Regions from separate parts of the Homo sapiens genome. Here region 1 is linked to region 2. Evidence: promoter capture Hi-C in 16 types of primary human blood cells and fetal thymus (Javierre and others, 2016). All regions are on one chromosome and are shown on one strand. The core of a region is centred on a gene start or on the middle of the fragment in contact, and the rest is flanking DNA. Distances in the headings are between cores, read along the strand shown. Region 1 overlaps LOC124903507 (a long non-coding RNA gene). Region 2 holds the start of ZNF609 (zinc finger protein 609).

What was found. The method cuts DNA at HindIII sites, captures the fragments that hold promoters and counts their contacts. A CHiCAGO score of 5 or more calls a contact.
Region 1: a fragment that was not itself captured here is called in contact with the fragment with the promoter of ZNF609 in region 2 in 1 of 17 cell types (activated CD4 T cells); the score reaches 6.0 in activated CD4 T cells.

What each region holds. Positions count from the first base shown.
Region 1 is chr15:64,716,525-64,722,167 of GRCh38, reverse strand. It overlaps LOC124903507 (a long non-coding RNA gene), which reads right to left. Exons shown (of 3, transcript XR_007064679.1): 3 at 1,599-4,102. Among named protein-coding and RNA genes, the nearest start is that of OAZ2, 16 kb to the right of the region's middle. RefSeq lists an enhancer at 3,601-4,101. The HindIII fragment of the contact is 825 bases long and covers 845-1,669 here.
Region 2 is chr15:64,459,034-64,464,107 of GRCh38, reverse strand. It overlaps ZNF609 (zinc finger protein 609), which reads right to left and starts at 3,530. Exons shown (of 10, transcript NM_015042.2): 1 at 3,270-3,530. It overlaps LOC105370861 (a long non-coding RNA gene), which reads left to right and starts at 3,521. Exons shown (of 3, transcript XR_932367.3): 1 at 3,521-3,609. RefSeq lists silencers at 3,199-3,298, 3,359-3,478 and an enhancer at 3,939-4,008. The HindIII fragment of the contact is 12,937 bases long and covers 259-5,074 here.

The DNA.
Region 1 (5,643 bases), core at 8-2,507, 260 kb before region 2:
TTGATCTCAACTCACTGCAATCTCTGCCTCCGAGGTTCAAGCAATTCTAATGCCTCAGCCTCCTGAGTTGTTGGGATTACAGGTACGCATCACCATGCCCGGCTAATTTTTGTACTTTTAGTAGAGATGGGGTTTTGCTTTGTTGGCCAGGCTGGACTCAAACTCCTGGCCTCAAGCAATCTGCCCACTGCCTCGGCCTCCCATAGTGCTGGGATTACAGGCATGAGTCACTGTGTCCAGCTTCAATATTTCTAATACAAAAAAAAATTGCAAAGAAATCACATCCTTCGAAACTGTTTTTATATTTTTTTGTAGAGACAGGGTCTCAGTCTATCACTCAGGCTGGAATGCAGTGGTATGATCATTATTCACTGTAACCTTGAGCACCTGGCCTCAAGCAATCCTCCCACCATAGCCTCCCAAAGTGCTTGGATTACAGATATGTCCCACTGTGCCCAGCCTTTTGCAACTATTTAAACATGGTTAAAATTTTTTTTAAATCAAATTTTAAAATTTCCCCTTTTTTTTTTTTTTTGAGACAGAGTTTTGCTCTTGTCTCCCAGGTTGGAGTGCAATGGTGTGATCCCTACTCACTGCAACCTCCGCCTCCTGGGTTCAAGCGATTCTTTGGCCTCACCCTCCCGAGTAGCTGGGATTACAGGCACCTGCCACCACGCCCGGCTAATTTTTGTATTTATAGTAGAGACGGGGTTTCACCATGTTGTCCAGGCTGGTCTTGAACTCCTGACCTCAGGTGATCCACCCACCTCGGCCTCCCAAAGTGCTGGGATTACAGGCGTGAGCCACCATGCCCAGCCTAAAAACTTCACTTTTAAAACAAGCTTTATTGAAGGGGTACATAATTTTTAAAAATGTTTAGGGTATGCATGAGCTAAATTATTGAAAGACTACAGTCTTGAGAGATGAGCTAGAGGTTGCTTGACAAAGGAGGAGGAGAAAGACGTTCTTTGTAGGAGAAAGAGGGTTCTGTGAGTGGACTTGTTCATGGAAGGGAGTAATCTGAGATAAACTGGAAATGTATCCATCCTGGGCAACAGAGAGATACCCTATCTCTACAAAAAATACAAAAAGTAGCTGGGCATGGTGGCATGTACCTGTAGTCCCAGCTACTCAGGAGGCTAAGGCAGGGTGTATCACCTGAGCCCAGGAGGTGGAGGTTGCAGTGAGCTGAGATCACGCTATTGCACTCCAGCCTGGGCACTGGAGTGAGACCATGTCTTAAAAAAAAAAAAAAAAAAGGCCAGGCGTGGTGGCTCACGCCTGTAATCCCAGCACTTTGGGAGGCCGAGGCAGGTGGATCACGAGGTCAGGAGATCGAGACCATCCTGCCTAACACAGTGAAACCCTGTCTCTACTAAAAATACAAAAAAAAAAAAAAAAAAAAAAAATTAGCTGGGCGTGGTGGCAGGTGCCTGTAGTCCCAGCTACTCAGGAGGCTGAGGCAGGAGAATGGTGTGAACTCGGGAGGCGGAGCTTGCAGCCTGGGTGACAAGAGTGAGACTCCGTCTCAAAAAAAAAAAAAAAAAAAACCTGGAAATGTAAGTTGGGGTCAGACTCACAGGAACTAGGCTGAGGCATTTCTGTTTATTATTAATTTTAATTACGCAAGTTTTGCATGATTACAATCTCCTTGTAAAAAACTGAAGCTTTATGAATAGGCCTGGGACTGTCACTTCCATTTCTGGTCTCCAGAGGTGACCTTGGTTTTCAGTTGATGCAAGTTCATCTGGCACATGCTGCAGGTCTCTCTGTGACAGAATGTCCGAGCTAAGGAGTTTTAGCTTCTTCACAGGGTCATTGGCAACCAGGGGCTGGGGTGGAGCTGAGAATTTCTACAGGACTTATTACTCCTTTGTGTTTTGCAACTGGGGTTGCTCACTTAGATAATAAGAGTTGTGATTTGGGAGTGAGGGAAGGAGTTGGGGGTAATTTTGGCGCAAGGCCTGTGACACTGTATTGTCAGCAGCTGTCATTAAGCACTGTGCCACTGGAAGGTAGAAGGGAGGGTGCAGAAAAGCTGATGGGAGGACATGAAATCCCATCTTTATTTGCTTATAGATAGGCCTGGCTGGGGTAGAAATGTGCTCGCTACAAACAGTGGCCCTCTTAGTTTCTTTCGTGTCCCCACTTTTTTTTTTTTTTTTTTTTAGTAGAGATGGGGTTTCTCCATGTTGCCCAGTTTGGTCTTAAACTCCTGGGCTCAAGTGATCCACCTGCCTCGGCCTCCCGAAGTGCTGGGATTACAGGCGTGAGCCACCACACCTGGCCATATCCCCACTTTTGAATGAGACGAGGGTACAGAAAACAGTGTAATAACCATTCAAGTGTGATGAGCAACAGCAACTCATACTCGGCCTCACTGCTGGAGACAATACAGAGTGGTGTGGACAGTGGCAAAATGGACAGTCCAAGGTCTTTCTAAAGGGTGGTCATTATTCAGCCCCATCAGCTGTGGTCCTGGGGCCATATGCATCAATGTTAGCCATATCGTCTGATTTTTCAAGAGACTGTAGAAATTGGGATTTTTTTTTTTTTTTTTTTTTTGAGACGGAGTTTCGCTCTGTCGCCCAGGCTGGAGTGCAGTGGTGTGATCTCAGCTCACGGCAACCTCCGCCCCCCAGGTTCAAGCGATTCTCCTGCCTCAGCCCCCCAAGCAGCTGGGTAGCTGGGACTGCAGGCATGGACCACCACACCTGGCTAATTCTTGTATTTTTAGTAGAGACGGGGTTTTGTCATGTTGGCCAGGCTGGTCTTGAACTCCTGACCTCAGGTGATCCACCTGCCTCGGCCTCCCAAAGTACTGGGATTATAGGCCTGAGCCACCTCACCCAGCCTCGGCTCAAACATTTCTTAAATGCTGTGTTGGCCAAATAAGCCATGTGCCTGCGGGCTGCATTTGGCCTATGGGCTGTTAGTTTGTGTTCTCTGTTTCAGAGTTTCTTGTCTTTGTATATCATCCCCGGCATGCCACTGGCTCTACGATCTACGTGGCTGTGGAGGATCCTGGCCTTCTTAGGTAGATGCTGTGAGAATGGCTGACTTCACTCCCCATGTCTAGTTTGCACCCATATTCTGATATCCAGTTAGTAATAGAGCTCTGCCAAGAAGCTGAGGGCTTAGCAGAAGGTTCCAGAAGCATCCCAGGGAAGTCAGTCAATCTAGATTCATTAGACGCCAAGACCCCTCCAGGGATTTGGTCCTGAGGCCTTCAGAGTCTTTCTCTCAGGCGTCAGGGCGGGTTCTTGTGCCTCTCCCAGGACAGAGCCCAGTGGGAACACAGGTTGGTGACTGTTTCTCAAAGGGCTTTGTCCTGTGACTGAAGCCAAGCAAGGGAGTCAGACACATGAAAACACACACACACACACACACACACACACACACACACACACACACCATCCCCCATACTTCCCAGACCTTTTCCCACGCAGTCCCAGGGCGGCCAGAAGGGCAGCTGGTCGTGGGAATGAACCGCAGCCTCCTCCCCCACTGGCAGCTCCACCCCGCTCCATCTACTCCTGGCCGTGCTGTCCCACCCCCAACCCCCTTATTACTTCCAGAGAAGGAAGTAGCAGAACAATGTGGCACATCAGAGAATGGGCACAGAGCCCAGAGCCCCGTGCCCAGGATGGGTCCCCAGCAGGCCGTGGGCTCTGATCCCTGGCTGCCCCGCTCCTGCTCAGGCGGCTTCCCCAAGGTGGCTTCCTAGACCTTCTCTCCATCTCTGGAAGCTCGGCATGGCGGCCACTCTTCTGCCTTTCCGAGGTTGGCCTCTTCCCCGTTGTGCGGTAGCCAGCGTGTGACCTACTTCCTTCCGTCCTTCCTCACCCACACTCCCCACACTCCATTTGGATAGAGTTCCCAGTCTGAGGGGCTGAAGCCAGGCTTTGATGGGGATTTTGGCCAGCGGGAGCAGGTGGGAAGAAAGGGTGATATTTTCTGAAGTTTTTCTCCAGAGGTCAGGCAAGGCAAGTTGTGAGAACAGAGATGGGGTTGGCTCAAGGGCGCCAGGGCCCCGAGGTCTCATTCTTGCTTCTGGATGGGGCTGTCTCTGCCTTGGCAGACGAGTGGAAATGCTCACAGGCTAGAGGAACAGAAAAAAAAATCACTAGTCATGCCCAGCTTCCTGGAGCTGGGAAGTTGGTGGGAACCATTACTTTTGTTTTTCCTGTTGGTCTAAAATAATGTTTTGCCTGGGACCGGAACCCTACGCCCCAGGCAGGACTACCCCTCACTCACTTCCAGCTCTAGTGCTTTCAACTGCTTCACCTTCCGCCAGGCGCTTCCTGCCCTGTGAGCCAAGGGGCAGGGCTCCTCACAAGTCTTTTGCTGCCTCTAGAAGCCAGTTCCTCCCTCCGCCCCCAACCATGATCCTGACTCAAGGGTTGGTAGTGGGATCCAAGCTAGACCTTATGAGGTGGCTCAAGTGACCACTTGGAAAAGTCTTTATCGCGGAAAAGAACCCTAAGAGTCTACTCCCAACCTCAAATTTTAGCTGAGAAACAGAGGTACAAAGAGCACATGTGCCTTGCCAGGATCAGCAGCCAGGAAAAGGGGGAGAACCAGGACTCGCAGGTTTTCTGACTCTTTGGTGATGTCCTTAAGGAACACCGTGCAATGTTGAAAGGCAGCTTTGGGAGGGAGCAGAAGAAAAATGCCAGGCTCTTGACATCCTGATCTTGCTTGGGCCTCAGAGAACCTTTATTTTTAATTTCCTTTTTCAGGGCTTTGGGCTCTATTTTCACCTTGAAAAAGTGGCGTTGAATTGTCTTTGTTCTCAGCAGAGAGCTGACACCTGTTCTTCTCAGCGCCTCCTGCACTCGCGGGCTGAGCGGCCCACTTCTGCACTGATGCTGCTGTCTTCTCGTGCTTCTGCCTTGTTTCAGATATGTAAGTTACATCTCTCCAACTCTGCTGTAAGCTTTCATGCTTTAAATTTCTTCACTGAATTTTGCCATACACAAAAGTATTCACTGAGCACCTCATGTGGCCCAGGCTCTTCGCTTCTTACCCACCTGGAGCTTTCAGTCCAACACGAGTGTCACACAATGAACATGGAAGCAGCAGATGAATGCATTACAGATATGCCATGAGGGAATACACAGGGAACAGGGATGCTGCCAAGGGCTCTCTGAGGATGGGGAGCCAGCCCCGCCTCAGGAGGATCTGGGGAAGGGTGGTCCAGGTCAGGGAATAGTAAGAGGCTGGTCCTGTTTGAGGCCCTGAGAAGAAGCCAGGGTTGCTCCACCAAAGAGAGGAGCACAGGATGAGGCTGGAGGGGCAGGAGGGCTTAGATCCTCTAGGGCTTTTTTGTTTTGTTTTGTTTTTAGAGAGAGGGTCTCCCTCTGCTGCCCAGATGTCTCACTCTGCTACAGTACAGTGGTGCAGTCATACATAGCTCAGTTGCAGCCTCAAATTCCCGGGCTTATGTGATCCTCCCACCTCAGCCTCCTGGGAGTAGCTGGGACTACAGGAGTGTGCCACCATGCCTGGCTAATTATTAACTTTTTTTGTAGAGATAGGCTCTCCCTATGTTGCCCAGTCTGGTCTCAAACTCCTGGGCTCAAATGATCCTCCCACTTCAGCCTCCTGAATAGCTAGGACTACATGTATGCACCACAACAC
Region 2 (5,074 bases), core at 2,281-4,780:
AATCTGTCCAACTTTCTAGACTTCTATCACAAGGAAATTTTTTTCTACCAAGAAGCTGGGACGGGTAGTTGGGGGGGAATCCAAAGCACTCTTTGAATGATGGTCACAATCAGAAGACTCACATGAGATTCCTTGTGGCAAGGGCCCAACTCTGAAGCCACTAAATCTAATCAGGACAAATTTAATCTGAGGCTTCTGCCTTCACTGTCACCTGACAGCATTCAGAAATAAATGCCAAGAGCCCAAGAGCAAAAAGCTTTGGACTCAGTTTAGCTGAGGCTTCACTCAAATATTCCTAGGACACAGAGTTGGAAATAGTCTAAAGACAGACAACACCTCCAGTAAGGCCTGAAGACAGTTCTGTTATCAAAAAATATATAAAGGTCAGAACAACCTGTTCCCTCCTATCAAAGGCCCAACACCTCAGTGGCAGGCCATCATTTAAAGAAACTCACTGAAATAAAAGGATAAGGGAGGCACCATAGACAGACTAATTGCCTCAGAAAGACCTTTACCAAAACCAAAGGCTAAAGTTCTTATTCAACACTATCCTATGGGAAATGATTGGCTATTGTGTACACAGCACATTATATACAATTCCCCACTCACAATGAGTTTTACTTCTAATCTCTTTTTAAAGAAAAGTTGTATTTAATGTCCTAAATGGAAACCTCTTTTCCAGGCCCCAAATTTTTTTTTTTTTTTTTTAAAGACAAGGTCCTGCTCTATCACCCAGGCTGGAGTACAGCGGTGCAATCACAGCTCACTGCAGCCTCAACCTCCTGGGCTCAACGAGATCTTTCTACCTCAGCCTCCCAAGAAGCTGGGACCACAGGCGTATGCCACTACACCCAGCTAACATTTTTTATATTTTTTGTTGAGATGGGGTTTTGCCATGTTGCCCAAGCTGGTCTCGAACTCCTGAACTCAAGCGATCTTCCCACCTCAGCCTCCTGAGTAGCTGGGACCACTGGCATGTGCCACTATGCCCAGCTAGCTGTATTTTTTTAAATTTTTGTAGAGATGAGTTCTCACTATGTTGCCCAGGCCACTCTCAAACTCCTAGGCTCAAGTGATCCTCCTGCCTCAGCCTCCCAAAGTGCTGGGATTACAGGTGTGAGCACCATGCCTGGTCCCAAATAATTTTTTACACAACTAATAGTACATAAATATTATTTGAGCACTTCTATCAGATATGTACAATAGGATTCCTTCTAGTTTGTTCTCATCCTTCTCTCACTAATAATCCCTAAGACCCATACATTTTTTCAAAAATGTTTATTTCTTTGGCAAATTTCTTAATACAGAGGCAGATATAGACTTTTGCACAATGAGCAACTCATGTCCTTTCATTAGAGTTAAAATAAATATTGAAAGGTTTGTTCCCACAGCCCTTGCCCAGATAGGCAAATTCTGTGGCTTTTTTGTTGTGCTATTATTATTGACCAGGAAGCCACCATTAAAAAGGTACTTGGTTCTTGACTTTTTTATTTTTTATTTTTAAAGAAACAGGGTCTTGCTTTGTTGCCCAGGCTGGTCTTAAACTCCTGGGCTCCAGCCATCCTCTGGCTTCATTCTCCCAAAGTGCCAAGATTACAAGCATGAGCCACCACACCTGGGCTTGACTCCCCATCTTAACACTGCACAGGTTTTTAGTGGTATTCGGAAACAAACAAAAATCACTGCATGAGTGTTCCATTCATATAAAAGAATTAAATATGATGATTCAACTAAGAGTAGAACCTTCCCTTGAAGTCTTCTTCCTTAAGGGTCTGAAACAAACATCGTAGTTGAGTCTACCAGACACTATTCCTTCACAACTTAGTACAGGCTAGCCAAAGAGGCAGGCACAACATGGCTGGCATCCCTTATTCTTCTGAAAAATGTGTGCCAATGAGCTCTGCATTGTTCCTCACTCAAAAAGAAGAGCCTTTCTCTCTGGCCTCCTCCAATGGCAAGCCCCAGTCTGGAAAAGGAAGAAAATGGCACTGAGGAGCCTGGGAGATGGAGCATATCCAAAGCTCTCAGACAAGACTTGAACCTATGACCTTCACTGTGTACACAATAGGCGGGTGAGAGGGACCGGTTTATCTCTGCTGCAGCAGTTCTCAGCCCTGGGGTAGCGCTCCCGATAAAATGACACGACTATTGTGTGTGGCAGCAGAACAGTCATCTCCTCACAACAGCCTAAACCAGCACTCCCTCCCCCAAGACAAAGCAGCAGGGGTGAAATTAACTCAAGGCTGCAGAGCAAAGCCTAATACAGAAAAGGGAGGCCTGTAGGGGCTTGGGGACTCTCCTCAACCCCTTAGGCTCTGGACACATGGCTGGAAACAGACAGGCTTTCTTCCCTATCTTTCTCACTCTCATTTAGGTAGGGAGCTGTTTCTTAGAGAATTTAATCATCCGTGATTTGTTCAGAAATATTCCCCCTGAAGGGCTCTGATCTCTCCACCCTGTGTGAGCCTAATTCCTCGAAGCTGAAATGACTGTTTGCTGCTGCCTGTTTCACAAACACACATTAATTGGTCAGATGTGTCTCCTCCTCCTCAACCCCAGAGGGAGGAAGGAGAATCTGAGCAAAGCACAGAGATGATCCAACCGTAATTACACATAAAGGGAAAAGAGGGCAGCATGGGTTTTCCAAACAGGATAGGGTCACAAACCCTCCCGGGGGTACAAGGATAGCAGTTGAGGTCCAGGCCCAGGGATCCCTCCATCTTGAAGAAAAGGACAGGAGTAAATGTGACCTGAAGACTGTTAGGGGCACACACCCACAACCTACTTACTGCAGGATCCCAGCCACCTTGCTCCCCACTCCTAGGTCACGCACACGTCCTGCTTCCGACCCTATGCTCTGAACAACCACCACCGCCCCCGCCCCCCCTCCCCCGCCAACTCCCTGACTGGCCCCAGTCGCCCCGAGCGCCCTCAACATACCCAGACTCGCCTCAGAAACTCTCTGGCCTGCTCCCATAACCTAGCCAGACCCTAATCCCCTCCCGGGCACCCCTACCCTCAGCCTGAACCGGCCGTGGCCACGCTTTGAACTTCACCCCGCGCCCCTCGACGCCCCCTCCCCCACCCACGCAACGACCCCCCCTACACACCTTCCCCTCGCTCCGCCCCAGCCCCCCCAACCCCCACTTCCTCCGTCAGGCAGCGCCGCCGCCCCCGGCCCCCATCAGATCCCCTCAGCCCCGCGCCCCATCGGTGCCGCCGCCTCTTTCCTCCCCCAGTCCCGGCTCCACACAAAGCTCCGGACTCACCGCGCGGCCGGTCCCGGGAGCCGCCACCTCCGCCCGCCCGGGGCCCCGGGCCGTAGAGCCGCCGCTGCTACGGGGCCCAGGCCGCCATCCGTTCCCGCGGCCCCTCCCCCCCACCCCACCCCGGCTCCGGCTCCGGCTCCGGCTCTGGCTCTCTGCCCCCTCCCCGCGCCTCTCCGCCCCGCCCGGCCGGTGCCGCTGTGTCCGGGGCCGCGGGTCCCTCAGCCGCCGCCACCGCCGCCGCCGCCGCGATCCGGGACAACCAGAGTCACCCGGAAGACGCGGACACTGGACTGCCAGGCCCTCGGATCCGGATTCCGCGCTTGTGTGGAGTCTGGAGCCGGTGAGCGCAGGGGAAACCCGGAACCTGGATGAAGGAGCGAAATCCTGGGTCTCGGAATGCGCGCTCACCCGGAGCCCAGATTAGGGAGTCTTAGCTCAGGGAATGCTGGAAAACCCGGCGTGCCGGTTAGAACCAAGATAAACTCAAAGAAACCTGGATTAGAGAGCTCGAACCTAACGCTGTCCCCTCGTGGGCAGTAGAACTCTCGCTGGATCAGACTTCCTCATAGAGAGGTCTCTGGGGGGAGTATTGCACCTTATAACACAGAAGACACCTCTTCTGTAGTTGTCCTTCAACCACAGAGAGGAAAGGGCCGTAGGGGATCTGAACATGGGCATCCACAAAGAACAGAAGAGCAATCACAGCTCCTGATGGTTTCATCCATTTTACCCCTTAGTTCAGCAAAGTACCAACCTCCTAATTTTTTATCCTTTGTTCTCCAGCTTTCTCTTTTAGGATTACCACTTGCTTTTCTCCCCAAAGCACCCATTTCTAATCCCTCTATATATCCCTTTTCCCCTCACCATCCTCTATCACTAAATCTTGTTGCCTTTTATTATCTAAAAACCTTATTCTGTCCTTCTCCAACCCACCATTCTAAGGATTGTAGCTTTTATTTTTCCTTATCTGCTATTCATCTCTGATTGCCCAGCATACTATCTAGTGCACAGTAGGCATTCAGTCCATGTTTAAGTGAGCCCTCCCACCCAGCTTTCACTTGTGAAACATCTATTCATGACGACCTCCTAAGACTTCCATCTCATTCCATAGCAAACAAATTTACCTTAATTCTCAAGGCCTCCCACATCCTAGCCCCTATTATGTCCTTCCTGTGTCCTTGACCATTTTATTTTGCTTTGCATTTATCTTACCTTTTTTCCCTTATCCTGGGGCATCCTTCAACAGTGCCACTCAAGATAGCATGTGACTTGGAGATAAAGTGAGGTCATAAAAAGGTGGGGGGAGGGGTTGATAGCTAAAGATAAAAGTAAACCTTTCTGGTCTAGGAAAAATAATCTCTCTTTGGTCCACCAATAGTCATGTTGTTAGACAGTACAGGGGCAGAACTGATCCCAGGTGACAGCGAACTTCCAATGTATACTAGACAAAGTTACAAGTGAGGATTCAGCTACTTAGCAGGTGGAGACAGAGAAGGGTTTAGTGTTTTAGACTTAGGCATGATTTAATTAAGGATTAAACATTCCAGTAGTCATCTCCCACTGAAGGAGCATGACTCTGCCATTGGAGAGAACTAGACTGCAAAAATAGGGAACAAAGGAAGGTAAACATTCCTGCAGTGAACTCCAAGTTTCAGCCAGAGAAAGTTCTCAAGCCTCGAAGAACCACTAAAAATTTTCAAGTGATCAGATGTCCCACATAGTAAACAAACCTTAAGTTTTGATTTACTGTTCCTCTAGACCAAGGGTTGGCAAACTGCATCTCACAGGTCAAATCAGGCTCACCA